4 separate regions of the Homo sapiens genome follow, and regions 2, 3 and 4 are each linked to region 1. The links are contacts of gene promoters, found by promoter capture Hi-C in blood cells and fetal thymus (Javierre and others, 2016). All regions are on one chromosome and are shown on one strand. Each heading gives the region's core, a stretch centred on a gene start or on the middle of the fragment in contact. The rest is flanking DNA. Distances are from core to core; before and after follow the strand shown.

The links. Contacts are between HindIII fragments. The CHiCAGO score rates a contact against its expected background, and 5 or more counts as called.
Region 2: a contact is called between a fragment that was not itself captured here and the fragment with the promoter of THRSP in region 1, in 2 of 17 cell types (activated CD4 T cells and non-activated CD4 T cells). The highest score is 6.6, in activated CD4 T cells.
Region 3: a fragment that was not itself captured here is called in contact with the fragment with the promoter of THRSP in region 1 in 3 of 17 cell types (erythroblasts, megakaryocytes and total CD4 T cells); the score reaches 7.2 in erythroblasts.
Region 4: a fragment that was not itself captured here is called in contact with the fragment with the promoter of THRSP in region 1 in 5 of 17 cell types (erythroblasts, endothelial precursors, naive CD4 T cells and 2 more); the score reaches 8.1 in erythroblasts.

Annotation. Positions count from the first base shown.
Region 1 is chr11:78,061,397-78,065,167 of GRCh38, reverse strand. It overlaps THRSP (thyroid hormone responsive), which reads right to left and starts at 1,307. Exons shown (of 2, transcript NM_003251.4): 1 at 827-1,307. The coding sequence starts at 1,286. The coding sequence ends at 846. All of the region lies in intron 1 of NDUFC2-KCTD14 (NDUFC2-KCTD14 readthrough), which reads left to right. The HindIII fragment of the contact is 4,485 bases long and covers 1-1,562 here.
Region 2 is chr11:78,363,886-78,367,309 of GRCh38, reverse strand. The region is part of intron 1 of GAB2 (GRB2 associated binding protein 2); the gene reads left to right. Among named protein-coding and RNA genes, the nearest start is that of GAB2, 52 kb to the left of the region's middle. RefSeq lists an enhancer at 1,282-2,194. The HindIII fragment of the contact is 2,076 bases long and covers 364-2,439 here.
Region 3 is chr11:77,758,313-77,762,114 of GRCh38, reverse strand. The region is part of intron 2 of RSF1 (remodeling and spacing factor 1); the gene reads left to right. Among named protein-coding and RNA genes, the nearest start is that of RSF1-IT1, 21 kb to the right of the region's middle. The HindIII fragment of the contact is 5,162 bases long and covers 1-3,802 here.
Region 4 is chr11:77,783,725-77,787,589 of GRCh38, reverse strand. The region is part of intron 1 of RSF1 (remodeling and spacing factor 1); the gene reads left to right. It also overlaps the pseudogene LOC124902804. Among named protein-coding and RNA genes, the nearest start is that of RSF1, 35 kb to the left of the region's middle. The HindIII fragment of the contact is 3,098 bases long and covers 1-3,033 here.

The DNA of each region.
Region 1 (3,771 bases), core at 58-2,557:
CCCCAGCCTGTTGTAGCAGTACTGCAAGCAGCCTCACCTATGTATCCCCATGTGCCATATAATAATTTTCCATGTTCTGTGACTTGAAAAAATGTTGGGAAACACTGTCACACAAATGGAATTCACAATGTTCACTTAAATCAATGTGCATGCCTTAGGTAAGTTTTTTTTTTTTTTTTGAGATGGAGTCTCCCTCTGTCACCTAGGCTGGAGTGCAGTGGCACAATCTCAGCTCACTGCAACCTCTGCCTCCCAGGTTCATGCCATTCTCCTGCCTCAGCCTCCCGAGTAGCTGGGACTACAGGCACCCACCACCACGCCCAGCTAATTTTTTGTATTTTTAGTAGAGATTGGGTTTCACCATGTTAGCCAGGATGGTCTCAATCTCCTGGCCTCATGATCCGCCCGCCTCGGCCTCCCAAAGTGCTTTGGTGTGAGCCACCGCGCCTGGCCCCTCTTCAATTAAATTCTTAACAAAGTCACTGATGAGAACACACTCATTCAATTCACACATTTACAAGCATTCACATACTAATAAATGCACACATGCACAAACACATATATGTGCATATGAGATATGCCCTCACAGGCCACTTTTCCCTCTGTTTCCATATCACTTCATTGCAATTGCCAATTTGAGGTCAGAAGGATAGTAACACAGGCCTAGTCTTAGGCCCTCCTAGGTTGTGGTCCCAATACCCTGACCCAAGAGTGGCTCTGTCTGAAAGTCAGGCTGTTCCTCTCCCAGTGGGTTGCACCACTGCCCCCTCTCCTCTCCTGGAATGTCCCTTTGTAGACTCACACCCACCAGCATGGCCACCATTACCTTCCCTAGTGTCCAAGGTCTACCAAACTTGTCCCGTCATTTCCTGGTATTTCCTTGTCACCTCCTGGGCTTTCTCGGTGAGGTGCATGAGGATGTGATGGAGGCTGGAGAAGTGCAGGTGGAACTGGGCTTCCAGGTCCAGCTCTCCTGAGGCACTCTCGTCCTCGACTTCCTCTGTCTCTGCGGTTCCATTCTCTTCGCTGCCTGCCACCTTGGCCTGCCACTCCTCCCGCGGCAGCAGCCCATGGTCCACATCCACACAGATGGCCTTGAGCATGGTGAAGTAGGTGTAGAGATCAGGGGCCTCAGCCTGGGCCTGGCCCCCAGGCCCACTCAGCTGCACGTCCCGCAGAAGGCTGGGGATCATCACCACCTGCTCCATGTTGTGCACCTCGGCTGCATACCGGTCCATGACGGTCAGCAGGCAGTTCTTGGGGTAACGCTTGGTTAGCACCTGCATGGTTGCTTCCTCTGACACAATGAGACCAGCAGACTGCCCCCGCACTATTTCTAGGCTCTCGGCAGATTGACAGGATGCCAATGCCCAGCTGTTGGGTCAACACAGCCCTGTTTTGGGCCAATCCCAGGGCTCAGGCCCCAGCATCTGTATCAGGTGATCCATCTGCCCAGAGACAGATCTGCCAGCCTTCTACTTGTCATCCCAGCTCTGCATGACTGCCCCAGCAAGAACCCGACTCTTCCTCTGTCAGCTTGCTGAGCCAGTTGGAAGGAAGCTTTTCCCTTTGGCAACTGGTATACTGGACTTCAGGGCAATAAATAATTCTTTCAGGTCACTGGAGACCAAGCTGTCTCTTTGCTGCCTGCTTAGGGCAGCCCTCCAAAGCACAGTTCACTCCTTCAACCTGGGGTGACTCCATTGTGAAATGGAGAGGATTTGAAGTGAAACAGCTTGATGTGGGGCAAGGAACACTGAGGTTGGAGTCAGAAGCCCAGTACTGCAATTTCCTAGCTGAGTTTTTTTTTGTTTGTTTTTTGCTGGCTAACATTTATTGAGCACCTACTGCACATCAGGGTCTGCTGAGCTTTTTCGTGAGTGATCTCATTTAATCTTCACCACAACCCTTGTAAATGTTTTATTTATTTAATTTTTGTAGAGATGGTCTTGCTATGTTGCCCAGTCTGGTTTTGAACTTCTGGACTCAAGCAATCCTCCCACCTCAGCCTCCCAAAGTGCTGGAATTGCAGGTGTGAACCACCAGTATTCCTGTTTTGCCAGTGAGGAAATTTAGGTGCAGACAGCTAAAGTAACTTGCTCAAGGTCCCACTGGGGCTGGGATTCCAGCCCAGGACCACCTCTACCCACCTCCAGGCAGTGCTGTGGACTGACATGAGGTTACATAGTCATACAAGTTAACCAGATCCATATCCTCTGTAAATTTGAGGTGGTGTGAGGATTGAATAAGACAAACTAATAAAAATGCTTTGTATCAGTCCAGACAAGCGGCTGGGATCAAAAGAGGAAAAAAAATGCTTTGTAAACCACAAAGCCCAATCCTCAGATGTATTATCTATGCAGATTCTAGATTATTGCTAAGGCTTCTCCCAAATCTAACCAGTCATTCCATAAGCTACAATGCTTCCACTTTATTACTGACCTTTCCTTGGACCAGCAGTCTTGGAAGATAATAATCTTTTGCGTGGTCATATTGTCATAGTTTACAAACTGCATTTGCTATATATTTTTTATTAGATATTTAAGAAAATGGCCGGGCGCAGTGGCTCACGCCTGTAATCCCAGCACTTTGGGAAGCCCAGGCGGGTGGATCACGAGGTCAGGAGATCGAGACCATCTTGGCTAACGTGGTGAAACCCTGTCTCTACTAAAAATACAAAAAATAAGCCGGGCGTGGTGGTGGGCGCCTGCAGTCCCGGCTACTCGGGAGGCTGAGGCAGTAGAATGGCGTGAACTCAGAAGGTGGAGCTTGCAGTGAGCCGAGATGATGCTGCACCACTGCACTCCAGCCTGGGCAACATAGCGAGACTCCGCCTCAAAAAAAAAAAAAGAAAAAGAAAAGAAAAGAAAATGAAGGCCTGGGGAAAGGCCCAAAGTTGCACAACAAGTTAGTGGCAGAGTCAAGTGGAGAATAAGACATTCTGAATTCTGGCTCAGGTACCTGCCTCCTCCACTGCCTCTGGTGAAATCTGCTGAATGATGATACCTCCCACGCCTGCAGGAGAGGAGAGAGGAGGAGGGAGCACAGGGAGGGGACGTGGGGCTGAACAGGGCCTCTGTGTTGTCTCACCTAAGCCACCCTCACCTCCACCCTAGGGCAGGAGCCCACTCTGCACCCTCCCAACTGACAATCATTCACTCCTCTGCTCCCTCCCACTACAGCCAGAGCTATGAAAAAGCTTATCTTTAGACTGAACAAAATTCCGCCTCCCAGCCCGGCATGGTGGCTCATGCCTGTAATCCCAGTACTTTGGAAGGCTGAGGCAGGAGGATCATTTGAACCCAGTAGTTTGAGACCAGCATGGGCAACATATGAGACCCTATCTCTACAAAAAATTAATTTTAAAAAATCAGCTGGGTGTGATGGCACATATCTGAGGTCTCAGCTACTCAAGTGGCTGAGGTGGGAGGATTGCTTGAGCCCGGGAGGTCAAGGCTGCAGTGAACTGTGATGGCACCACTGCACTCTGGCCTGGGTGACACAGCAAGACCCTGTCTCGAAAAAAAAAGAAAAAGAAAAAAATATTCTACTTCCCTATAACCCCTCCCCTTTAAATTGTAATATTTACCCCACCCAGAGTTACTGGCCTTAACTATGCTTATGTTGGCACAGCAGAGTGGTGTGCCAACTCAGTTTCCACAGGGGCCCTGAGACAGAAAAACATAAGTATCCCAAGATAAAACTGAGACAAAACTGAGACTCAGAAAGGGAGAGGTACTTGCCCAAGGTCTCATAGCTCGGACATGACAG
Region 2 (3,424 bases), core at 152-2,651, 300 kb before region 1:
CCATATGCCCTTCGAAGGCAGGATTTTTGTCTGTTTTGTTCATTGCTTTTTTCTCATGACCAGAATGTTGTCTGGCACAAAGTAGGTTAAAGGATATTGCTAGATGGAGGAAGAATGTATTTGTGACTCTTGGTCCAAGTTGATGGGGGAAAAGAAAACAGAAGTTTTCAATTTGGAGCTCCTCCAGATATTTGAGCTATGTTCCCCTTTACCCCTGAGATACTGTATGGCTCAGGAATATACCTTAGTATCATAATTTTGTATATGACTTATCTCCCTTGCTAGATGGTAAATTCATTGGGTTCAGGGACCTGTCTTGTATTTTTTTGCATCCTTAAGAATACCTTGCACATAATGGAAGCTTAAATACTCCTTGGATGGTTAGTGGGTTTTTAAAATTTCTCATGTAACTTTGTGAATAAAGATGGGGAGATTCTAATGAATATGTTGTTCTGGAGGATCATTTGAGAAGCAACCATTTGAGTTGCTTCTCCACTATATTTTCTCCAAGCCCTATCCCCAATTACATTCTATTCGCCATCATAGTCTGGATGGGGAATAGAATGTAATTGGGGATAGGGCTTGGAGAAAATATAGTGAATATAGAAGGTTTTTGATAATCCTTAACCCCTGCTCTTTGGTAGCAGGGTAAATTAACCCCCCATCCTCACTTTGTGCATATTCTATTTTAGTACTCATCTTTTTTTTTTTTTTTTTTTTTTTTGAGATGGAGTCTTGCTCTGTCGCCCAGCCTGGAATACAGTGGTGTGATCTCAGTTTACTGCAACCTCCACCTCCTGGGTTCAAGCAATTCTCCTGCCTCAGCCTCCCAAGTAGCTGGGACTACAGACATGCACCACTGTACCTGGCTAATTTTTGTATTTTTAGTAGAGACGGAAATCTAATTTCGCCATGTTGGCCAGGCTGGCCTTGAACTCCTGACCTCAGGTGATCCACCTGCCTCGGCCTCCCAAAGTGCTGGGATTACAGGCGTGAGCCACTGTGCCCAGCCTATTTTAGTACTCATCATATTATGTTAAAGAGCTTGTCTCCTACACTGGACTGTGATTTCCCTATCATTAAGAACTCGGTATGGTTTTTGTGCATCTAACAGCTAATACTTGATAATGTTTGTGTGCCAACTCTGTATAAACACTATTCTAGGAACTCAGTAAATGTTTGCATTGAATTGAGTTTGTGTTAGGAGTTGTATTAGAACTCTACACCACCTTATAGTTTATAAAACATATGTATATTCATTGTCTTATTTAATTTTGAAATCAACTGAGTGCTGCAAATGAGAAAAATCAAAGCCCAGAGAAAACTGTAACTGGTCCATAATTACACAGCAGTTAATGGCTGAACATCCAGGCTGAACTTTGCCAGTTAGTGGCTGAATATTCACGAAATTCTGATGCCTCCATAGAGCGGGATAGAATTATGGAGGACTTGTCATTCTGGACTGCGGAATTTGGACCTGTGTATTGAAACAAGAAGAGAAAGGGAAGTGTTTCTTAAGTTATTTTTGGATGAAGGCTTTTTGCGATCCAAGGCTTCATCCCCTCAAGCTCAACAATAGCATTCCTTGGGGGAGTGAGAAGATGATGAATGGTCATCAGTTTGCTTGCCTCACCCAGATTCCATTCCTACCTCCCAGAATTTTCCCTGGTCCCACCCAGCTCCACAGTAACAATCAATCCCAATCAGTGACTGTACTTCATTTTTTGGATCAAGGAATACCCCTCCCTTTTCTGTCTTCCTCCTTAGGGCTTTGGATAGGAGCCCTTTAATTGATGTTGACTAAACTGGAGGCCAGCCCCTGCATACCAGGAATGCCAGTGGCTTTGTTAGTTGAGGAGGGCGCTGCATTAGCACTGCCCTCTAAATCCCAGAGCAGGTGGAGGAAATCTAATTAGCATTTAGTAAGCCAAGGTGCCCTGGGGAGTTTCTGATAAAGAAAAGGTCACTGCAGAAGGAGAAGGGACACTGATAGGGAGACTTCATTTTCCTAGTGGGAACTTTCTGAAATGGACTGGCAATCAGGTGAGCTGGATTCTAATGCCTGCCTTACTGGTGGCTTTTTAATCACACTTAAGTCCCTCTGCTTATCTGAGATTTCATTTTCTTGTCTGTGTCTAGTCCGTTACCAGACTCCTTTTCCTACACAAATATTTGTTTCATAACAGTGGAAGGGACCTCAGATCATTAAGTTGCTATCACCTTGGGGTGACAGGTACACTAAAATCTCAGAAGTCACCACTAAAGATCTTATTCATGTAACCAAATAACACCTGTTCCCCAAAACCCTGTTGAAATAAAAAAAATGACTGCAGCCATTCCCACCCTTGTATTTCAAGCATAGCATTGCCACCTACTTGCAAAATACTATATAGACGTATATATATATATTTTTAAAAAGGTGCTATTACCTGGGAAGCTTTTCCCAACATTACATATGTCCAAATCTCACTCTGTATCTACTGAATCTTCTGATATCAGTAGATATGTAGTAAATATGTATAGTTTGGGGAAAATTTCTCAGGAAAGTTTGATAAAATCCCTGGTTTATGCTTTTTTGAAGAACTTAAACACATATAGCAAACTCAAGGCCTATCACAGCATTTGCTATCATAGTTGTTAGTAATATGTTTGGAGAGGAATTTGGGGGGATGGCTATTAAGTGAGAAGCTAGAGGTAGAATAACCACTGCAAGCAATAAGCATTTTACAAAATGGGGATTGAGCTCTATTCGTAGGTGATGAAATCAATGGTAATGAGTTGCTACCAGTATTTTCAAAGTAAAATAGTATACAAAAAGTAGCATGTATTGTGTCCAGTTAAGGATATTTATTGAAACTTTTAAGTTCATTGTATTTATAGATACTGTGCTACAATTTAAAAGACATTTCTTACTGAATTTTTGTCAAAATCCATTGACCTAGATAGGAATCTGTATTGGAGTAAAGATGGTTCTAAGGGGAAGGAGTGTAGAGAAGCAATGTGGGAGCCACATGCGGTGGTTCATGCCTATATTCTCAGTACTTTGGGAGGCGGAGGTGGGAGGATAGCTTGAGGCCAGGAATTCCAGAAGCAATGTGGAAAGGACACTAGGGAATGTAGGTTCTAGTCTTTATCCAAGCTCTTTGACTTCAAGCAAATCACATTTTTCTCCTGGACCTTACATTCTTTTTTCTCATTGCCCTTAGTACCTTCTGTCTGACTTCAACCCCACATCTGCTTGACAAGAATTAACTCAAATATCTCTTCTTAACACCTACCTGATTCTGGCATACAGTAAGTGCTTATAAATATATGTTAAATGGGTGAGAACCTTTCCCTTAGGTCTGTGGGTACTTTCACTGGGCTTGTATATCTACCACTCCATTTAAAACTCTACTTACAGCTTTTTAAGAAAATGTATTTC
Region 3 (3,802 bases), core at 479-2,978, 300 kb after region 1:
GGTAGATTGCTTGAGCTCAGGAGTTCGAGACCAGCCTGGGCAACATGGCAAAATCCCATCTCTACAAAAAAAAAAAAAAAAAAAAAAGAAAAGAAAAGAAAATAATACAAAAAATAGCTGGGTGTGGTGGTGCATGCCTGTAGTACCAGCTATGCAAGAGGCTGAGGTGAAAGTATTGCTTCAGCTAGCTGAGGAGGTTGAGGCTGCAGTGAGCCAAGATCGTGCCACTGCACTCCAGCCTGGGCGACAGAGTGAGACCCTGTCTCAAAAAAAAAAAAAAAAAAAATCACCGAATGGAAATTTAAACTAGCAGTTCTGCTAGGACCTGTTAACTCTTGCTTTGTTGGATGGGCCTTGGCCTTATTCTTCACATTCCTTTTACTTGGCAAGTCATAAAGAAATTTCTCTGCCAGTGAACCTTTACGCTTCCATGAAATTCCCCTATTTTCTGTGGTTGTTAATGATTGATTAATGAGCAATTTCAGACACCTTGACCATGGATAATGAATACCACTATGCTAAATAACAATTTGCCTTCACATGCCTTCACAAATTTAGTACCTGCACCTCTACTTCTACTGCCCTGCCTCTTTCCTGAAGACAGCCATGTGAAGACCTTTAAAACTAGTGGGATAACCAATTATTAATAAATTATCCCTTAAAAGAAATCGCACTTGATTTCTTTTAGCCTCAGAATAATTTCTAAGTAAATAGGAGTTTAAAAAAAAAAAGAAATACTGTAACATTGAATGTAGTAAGTGTTTCAAAGAAATGTTAAAAAATGAAAGCAAATACGAATCTTAGAATAAGCAGAAAGTATTTTGGGGGGCTCAGTACTTGAAAGATGATGTCATTAAGTAGAAAATAACCTAATGTGGCCAGGTGCGGTGGCTCACGCCTGTAATCCCAGCACTTTGGGAGGCCAGGGCTGGCGGATCACAAGGTCAGGAGATTGAGACCATCCTGACCAACATGGTGAAACCCCGTCCCTACTGAAAATACAAAAAAAAATTAGCTGGGCGTGGTGGCAAGCGCCCAGCTACTCCGGAGGCTGAGGCAGGAGAACCGCTTGAATCTGGGAGGCGGAAGTTGCAGGGAGGCGGAGGTTGCAGTGAGCCGAGATCGCGGTGAGCCGAGATTGCACCACTGCACTCCACCCTGGTGACAGAGCGAGACTCCGTTTCAGAAAAAAAAAAAGAAAGAAAATAACCTAGTGTGTCTTTTCTGGGGTGTTTTTCTACCCCTCAACAGGAGATGATCGTATTCATATGTACCCTGAAAGTAAAGTACCTAGTATTAGGTTTAGAAATCCCTTGAAAATGAATAAATTTGGCAATAGATGGCCTTGATCTAAACAGCAATTTCAGAAAGGCCCATTGTCATCTGTTAACAAATCATAAAGGTCACCTTTTGTCATTTGATAATTAGGTTGTATTTTGACAAGAACTAGATGTTCCTTTACTGTTGTATTTCTCAAAAGTAAATTAAGATTAACACTCTTAATTTTTATATGCATTGTTAGTATTTTGTGTTTTTTATTGAGATATAATTCACATAAGATAAAATTCACCATTTTGAAGTGTACAGTTCATTGGTTTTTAGTGTATTCACTATGTTGTGCAAACATAACCACTAATTCCAGAACTTTTCTAACATCTCAGTAAGAAGCCTTGTATCTGTTATCAATCAGTATCAATCACACCCACCTTTTCCCCTGTATCCATCTGTATGGATTTGCCTACTCTGGACATTTCTTATAAATGGAATCATAAAATATGTGGTCTTTTGTATTTTCTTTCACTTAGTATTAGTATAATGATTTCCAGGTTTATGTACATTGTATCATGTATCATCTCATTCCTTTTTATTGCCAAATACTCATCCATTATATGGATAATAGCATCTTTTATGTATCCATCATCAGTTGATGGACATTTGCTTGTTTCCCACTTTGTTGTCTATTAGGAATAATGCTGCTATGGACATTTGTGTACAAGTTTTTCTGTGAACACGTATTTTCACTTCTCTCCTGTATATAACTAGGAGTAGAATTGTTAGGTCATATGGTAATTCTGTGTTTAACTTTTTAAGGACCTGCCAAACTGTTTTCCATAGCGGCTGTACCATAGCAATTTATGTTGTATTCATAGCAATTTATGAGGTTTCCAGTTTCTTTATAACTTTTTAATAATAATGATAATAGATAACATTTGACAGCTTATTATAAACTCAGTGCTATGCTTTTTTTTTTTTTTTTTTAACATGCATCACCATTTAATTCTCACCACAACCTGGATCATAGAATGGTGAATTACTCCCAAAGTCACATAGACACCAGATGGTGAAGCAAGGATTGAACACAGGCTTGTCTGATAGAGCATGAATGCTTAATGCTTTATATATTGCAAAGGATTTTCTTTTTCTTTTTGAGATGGAGTCTTGCTTTTTCGCCAGGCTGGAGTGAGTGCAGTGGCACAATCTCGGCTCACTGCAACCTCCGCCTCCTGGATTTAAGCGATTCTCCTGCCTCAGCCTCCTGAGTAGTTGGGATTACAGGCACACGCCACCATGCCTGGCTAATTTTTGTATTTTTAGTAAAGACGGGGTTTCACCATGTTGGGCAGGATGGTCTCGAGAGATCTCTTGACCTCGTGATCTGCCCGCCTTGGCCTCCCAAAATGCTGGGATTACAGGTGTGAGCCGCTACGCCCAGCCTTAGCATTTTCATAAAACTTTTACAATGCCAAGCTAAAATTTTTTATTTTTTGTAGAGGTGGCATCTCGCCACATTGCCCAGGCCGATCTCAAACTCCTGGGCTCAAGTGATCCTCCTGCCTTGGCCTCCCAAAGTGTTGGGATTACAGGTGTGAGCCACTGCACCTGGTTTGTGGTATTTTACAAATATCTTTTGACTGTTGCCTATAGTATAAAATACTTATTTGTTGAACTATGACAGCTTGCAAAATACAGTGGATACACTGTTTCATATCATATAGAAAAATTCACTGAAAATAGATCAACAACCTAAATATAAGGGCTAAATCATGAAACTCTTAGAAAAAAATAAAGGGAAATCTTCATGACCTTGGATCTGGCAATGGATTCTTAGATAGAAAACCAGAAGACTGAGCAACAACATAAAAAATAGATTAGTTAGACTTTGTCAAATTTTAAAACATTTGTACATCAAAGGACATTATGAAGAAAGTGAAAAGACAGCCTACAGAATGGAAGAAGTTATATTGCAAATTGCACGTATTGCAAATCATATAACTGATAAGCATTTAATATTTGGAATACATATAAGGAGCTCCTAAAACTCAACAACATAAAGACAACCCAAATGGCAAAATTTTTAATAGACATTTCTTCAAAGAAGATACACAAAGATCAAAAAGCATATGAGAAGAAGTTCATCATCATTTGTCCTTGGGGAAATGTGATTCAAAACCGTAAAATACCACTTTATACCTAACAGGATGGCTATTTTTTTTAAAAAGGAAAGTAAGTGTGGTGAATTTGTGGAGAAATTGGAACTCTCCTAAATTCTTCGTGAGAGTGTAATATGGTACAGCTGCTATGGAAGGGAGTTTGGCAGTTCCTCATAAAGCTCATCAGAATTGCCATATGACCTAGCAATTCCACTTCTACATATATAATTACTCCAGAGCAGGGACTCAAGCAGATCTTTGTATGCCAGTGTTTATTGCAGCATTATTCACTGTAGCCAAAAGGTAGAAACAACCTGTGTTCATCAACAGATGGATGGATTTTGCATTGAACAGAAATCTTATGTATAATA
Region 4 (3,865 bases), core at 235-2,734, 280 kb after region 1:
ATTTTTCTGTAAAGACCCAGATAGTACGTATTTTAGGCTTTGTGGGCTCTACAGTTTGTGTGTCAGCTATCTCTCTCTTCTACTGTAGTGTAAAAGCAACCATAAATGGTATTTAAATGAATAAACATGGTTGTGAACTTTATTTTTAGATACTATAATTTAAATTTTATGTAGTTTTAAATTGTCATGAAATGTTCTTTTTTTTACCTTTTTCAGCCATTTAATAATGTAAAAGTCATTCTTAGTTCTTGGGCTATACAAAAATAGGTGCTGAACCACATTTGATCTGTAGGATATAATTTGCTGACCCCCTGTTGCTTTAACCAGTGTTAGCCAAAAGATGAGCTTTTCCATTCTTGCTGTTGGGGGGCAGGCCTTGTTCATAGACCTGTGTGGGTGTTGGGTGCTATTCCCTTTATTTCTTTGGAGCAGTTCTATCCCTGACCTTGGGTAATTTCCCCGGGTACATGCCCTGCTCAGTCCTTTGCTAAAGACTCAGAGGGACTCTGCAAATTTCCAGAGTACTCTCTGCAGCTCTCTTCTCTGACACTTTTCTCTGTTAATTCTACCTTTGCCTTCTTGACTCTTAACCTCATCTCTCTAAGGGAGATTGCCAGGTTTTTGATTGATCCTCCCTGTTTGCCTCTTTACCCAGTTTGTAAATTGGGGTAGTTATAGGGTTTATCTCTGTTTTGCATCTCTCATGTATCACTATTCATAGTCTTTTGTTACTCGTATAATGTCTTGAGTGTCTAGTTTCATATATTTTTGTTGTCGTTTAGTTGTTTCAGTCAGGTAAACTTTGTCCTTATTACTCCATATTTGTTGGAAACACAAGAACAGTACTTTTTTTTCTTTTTTACTGTATTTTAAGAGATTTGGGCAGGAGGGTGAGCCCACCATCTTGATGTAATATGCCTCCACCATTATAGTTTTAGGAGAATTAAAATTATGGGGATCTTTTATTCCCCACTGTATATTGAGTGTCTACTGTATGCTAACCCCTTCTCTAAACCTTGTGACTAAAACTTTAATGGAACATACATTCTAGTGGTCTCAACAACAGATCATAATATAATGTTGAACTATATGAAATAGGAAATATATGTGTTCCTTGGGGTACTCCTGGCTTGAGTGAAAAGGTGTCCAAGGCTCCAGCCATTTTAAATATTTTTAAATGCCAATTTTAAATTTAAATAAATAATACATTTATTTACCAAAATTGGGTAATTTTTTATTCGCGTGCTGATCAGATATTCTGAATGATAAGTTAACAATAATCTTGCTAAGCACAACATAGGATACTTTAATAAATTCAGTTTGGTAGACTAAATCTCTTAATATACATAGTATTTGTGGGGATAAATTAATGGGAAGCATGATGGTACGTAGTAAATGTCAGGATTTTTAGTATTAGCTGGGTTGAAATCTTAGCCTTGCCACTTGATATTTGTGTGACCTGGCAATTTATTAACTTCAGAGTTTCTTCATAATGGAGACAGTAATATCCTCCTATAAAGTTTTAAGGATCTTTTGCCTTATGGAAATGTTAAAATCCACTATACGATATGATATGCAGATGTTTCTTTTTAGAGTTCATAGTTCATGTTTAACAAATAGATCTACGTATAATTCTTTTTTTTTTTTTTTTTTTTTTTTTTTTTGAGACAGAATCTCACTCTGTCGCCCAGGTTGGAGTGCAGTGGCGCGATCTCGGCTCGCTGCAAGCTCTGCCTCCCAGGTTCACGCCATTCTCCTGCCTCAGCCTCCCGAGTAGCTGGGACTACAGGTGCCCGCCGCCATGCCAGGCTAATTTTTTTGTATTTTTTTTTTTTCAGTAGAGACGGGGTTTCACCGTGATCCACCTGCCTCGGCCTCCCAGAGTGCTGGGATTACAGGCGTAAGCCACTGTGCCTGTCCAATTTGCTCTTTTAAAAATTCATATCATCTGCTCAAGTACACATCTTTAATTCTTTAATGTTGCTTTTCTTTTTTTTTTGAGATGGAGTTTCGCTCTTGTTGCCTGGGCTGGAGTGCAATGGCATGAGCTCGGCTCACTGCAACCTCCGCCTCCCAGGTTCAAGCAATTCTCCTGCCTCAGCCTCCTAAGTAGCTGGGATTACAGGTGTATGCCACCACGGCTGGCTAATTTTTGTATTTTTAGTAGAGACACAGTTTCACCATGTTGGCGAGGCTGGTCTCAAACTCCTGATCTCAGGTGATCCACCCACCTCAGCCTCCCAAAGTGTTGGGATTACAGGCATGAGCCACTGTGCCCAGCCAATGTTGCTTTAAAAATTGAGAATTCTCTCTGGACATGATGGAGTAATAAGGGGCTTTTACCCACTTGTCATAAACAGCTAGTAAACTGGATCAAGATACATGAACCATCTCTTTTTAGATATTGTACTAAGGCAAATCAGGATTGTTTTCCCTGGGTGATGGGTGAAATAAAAGAAGTGAGCCCTATACCACTACCAGGGTTTCCTGCCTGGAAGCAGCTTTAGGACCGCAGAAACAGAGAGAGAGAATCTAATGAGTCTGGCAGCTTCACTCAGTTGAGGAGGCAAAGATTGGATTTCAAGAGGCTTAGGCAGCTAGAAGTTGCAGGGCCAGGTTCTGAAAAGAAGAGGGCTATGCAGAAGACAGAATTTCAGAAATCTGTACATGGGCTACCTTGAGTCTTTGCTGAAGACTAGGTCGTATATGCAAACAGTGAAAATCCACAACGCTAGGCACTGAACATCCAGGTTATTACTAGCCAAACATTTCCTAGAACTTACACTGGAGATGTTTGAACTCTGACCAGAGTGAAATATTCTTTGTAGCACTCAGGGCATTCAATGGAGAACCCAATTGATTCATTGTAGTAAACCTGACAGAAAAGGCCTTAAAAAGATAAGATGAATCTGCAAATAAATACCTGCCAAAACAAAGCCCAACTGATTTTTACAGCACATTGCAAAATCTTAACAGCACATCTTAGCAGCGCTTAGCAGCATGGTAACATTGATATTTTCCAACATCCAAGCTTAATTTACTCAATATGGCTCAAATTACTAGCTGTGCTGAGAAACTGGTCTAACTCTTAACCAGGAGAAAAATGAACCCAAAGAAGCAGATTCAGAAATGATGGAGATACTAGATCTAGCAGACAAGGACAGTAAAATAAGTATTATAATTAGTAAAAGTATTTAAAGAAAAATATGAACATAATGAAAGAAATGAAAGATAAGAAAAATAAACATATAGAACTTCTAGAGATTAAAAAAATAATAGTATCTTAAATAAATTACTGAAAGGCATTTCACAGAAGATTGGATGCTGCAGAACAAACTAGTGAACTTGAAGACATGTCAGTAGACTTTATCCTAAAATGAAGCAGTGAGAAAGAGAACTGAAAATAATCAAGTGCTTCACTGGTCTGTGGAATAGTATCAAGCAGCCTCCATAAAGTGTATTTGAGATCCTAGAAGGAGGATGGAGCCAAGAATATTGGAAGAATAATGAATGCAAAATTTCAAATTTGATGAAAATTATAAACCCACAAACCCAATAATCTCAACAAACCTAAAGTACGACAAACACAGACAAACATTTACAGACATTTGTATGTTTGTCCTTTGCCAGAAAGCAGTGACAGAATCTTAAAGGCAACCTAAGAAAAAGACATATTATATACAGAGGAACAAAGAAGACGTTTTGTTGGAAACTATACAAACTAGGCGATAAGTAACTTTTTTTTTTTGAAATCGGGTCTTGCTCTGTCACCCAGGCTGGAGTGCAGTGGAGTAAACATGGCTCACTGCAGCCTCAACTTCCTGGGCTCAAGCGATCCTCCCAGTTCAGCCTCCTGAGTAGCTGG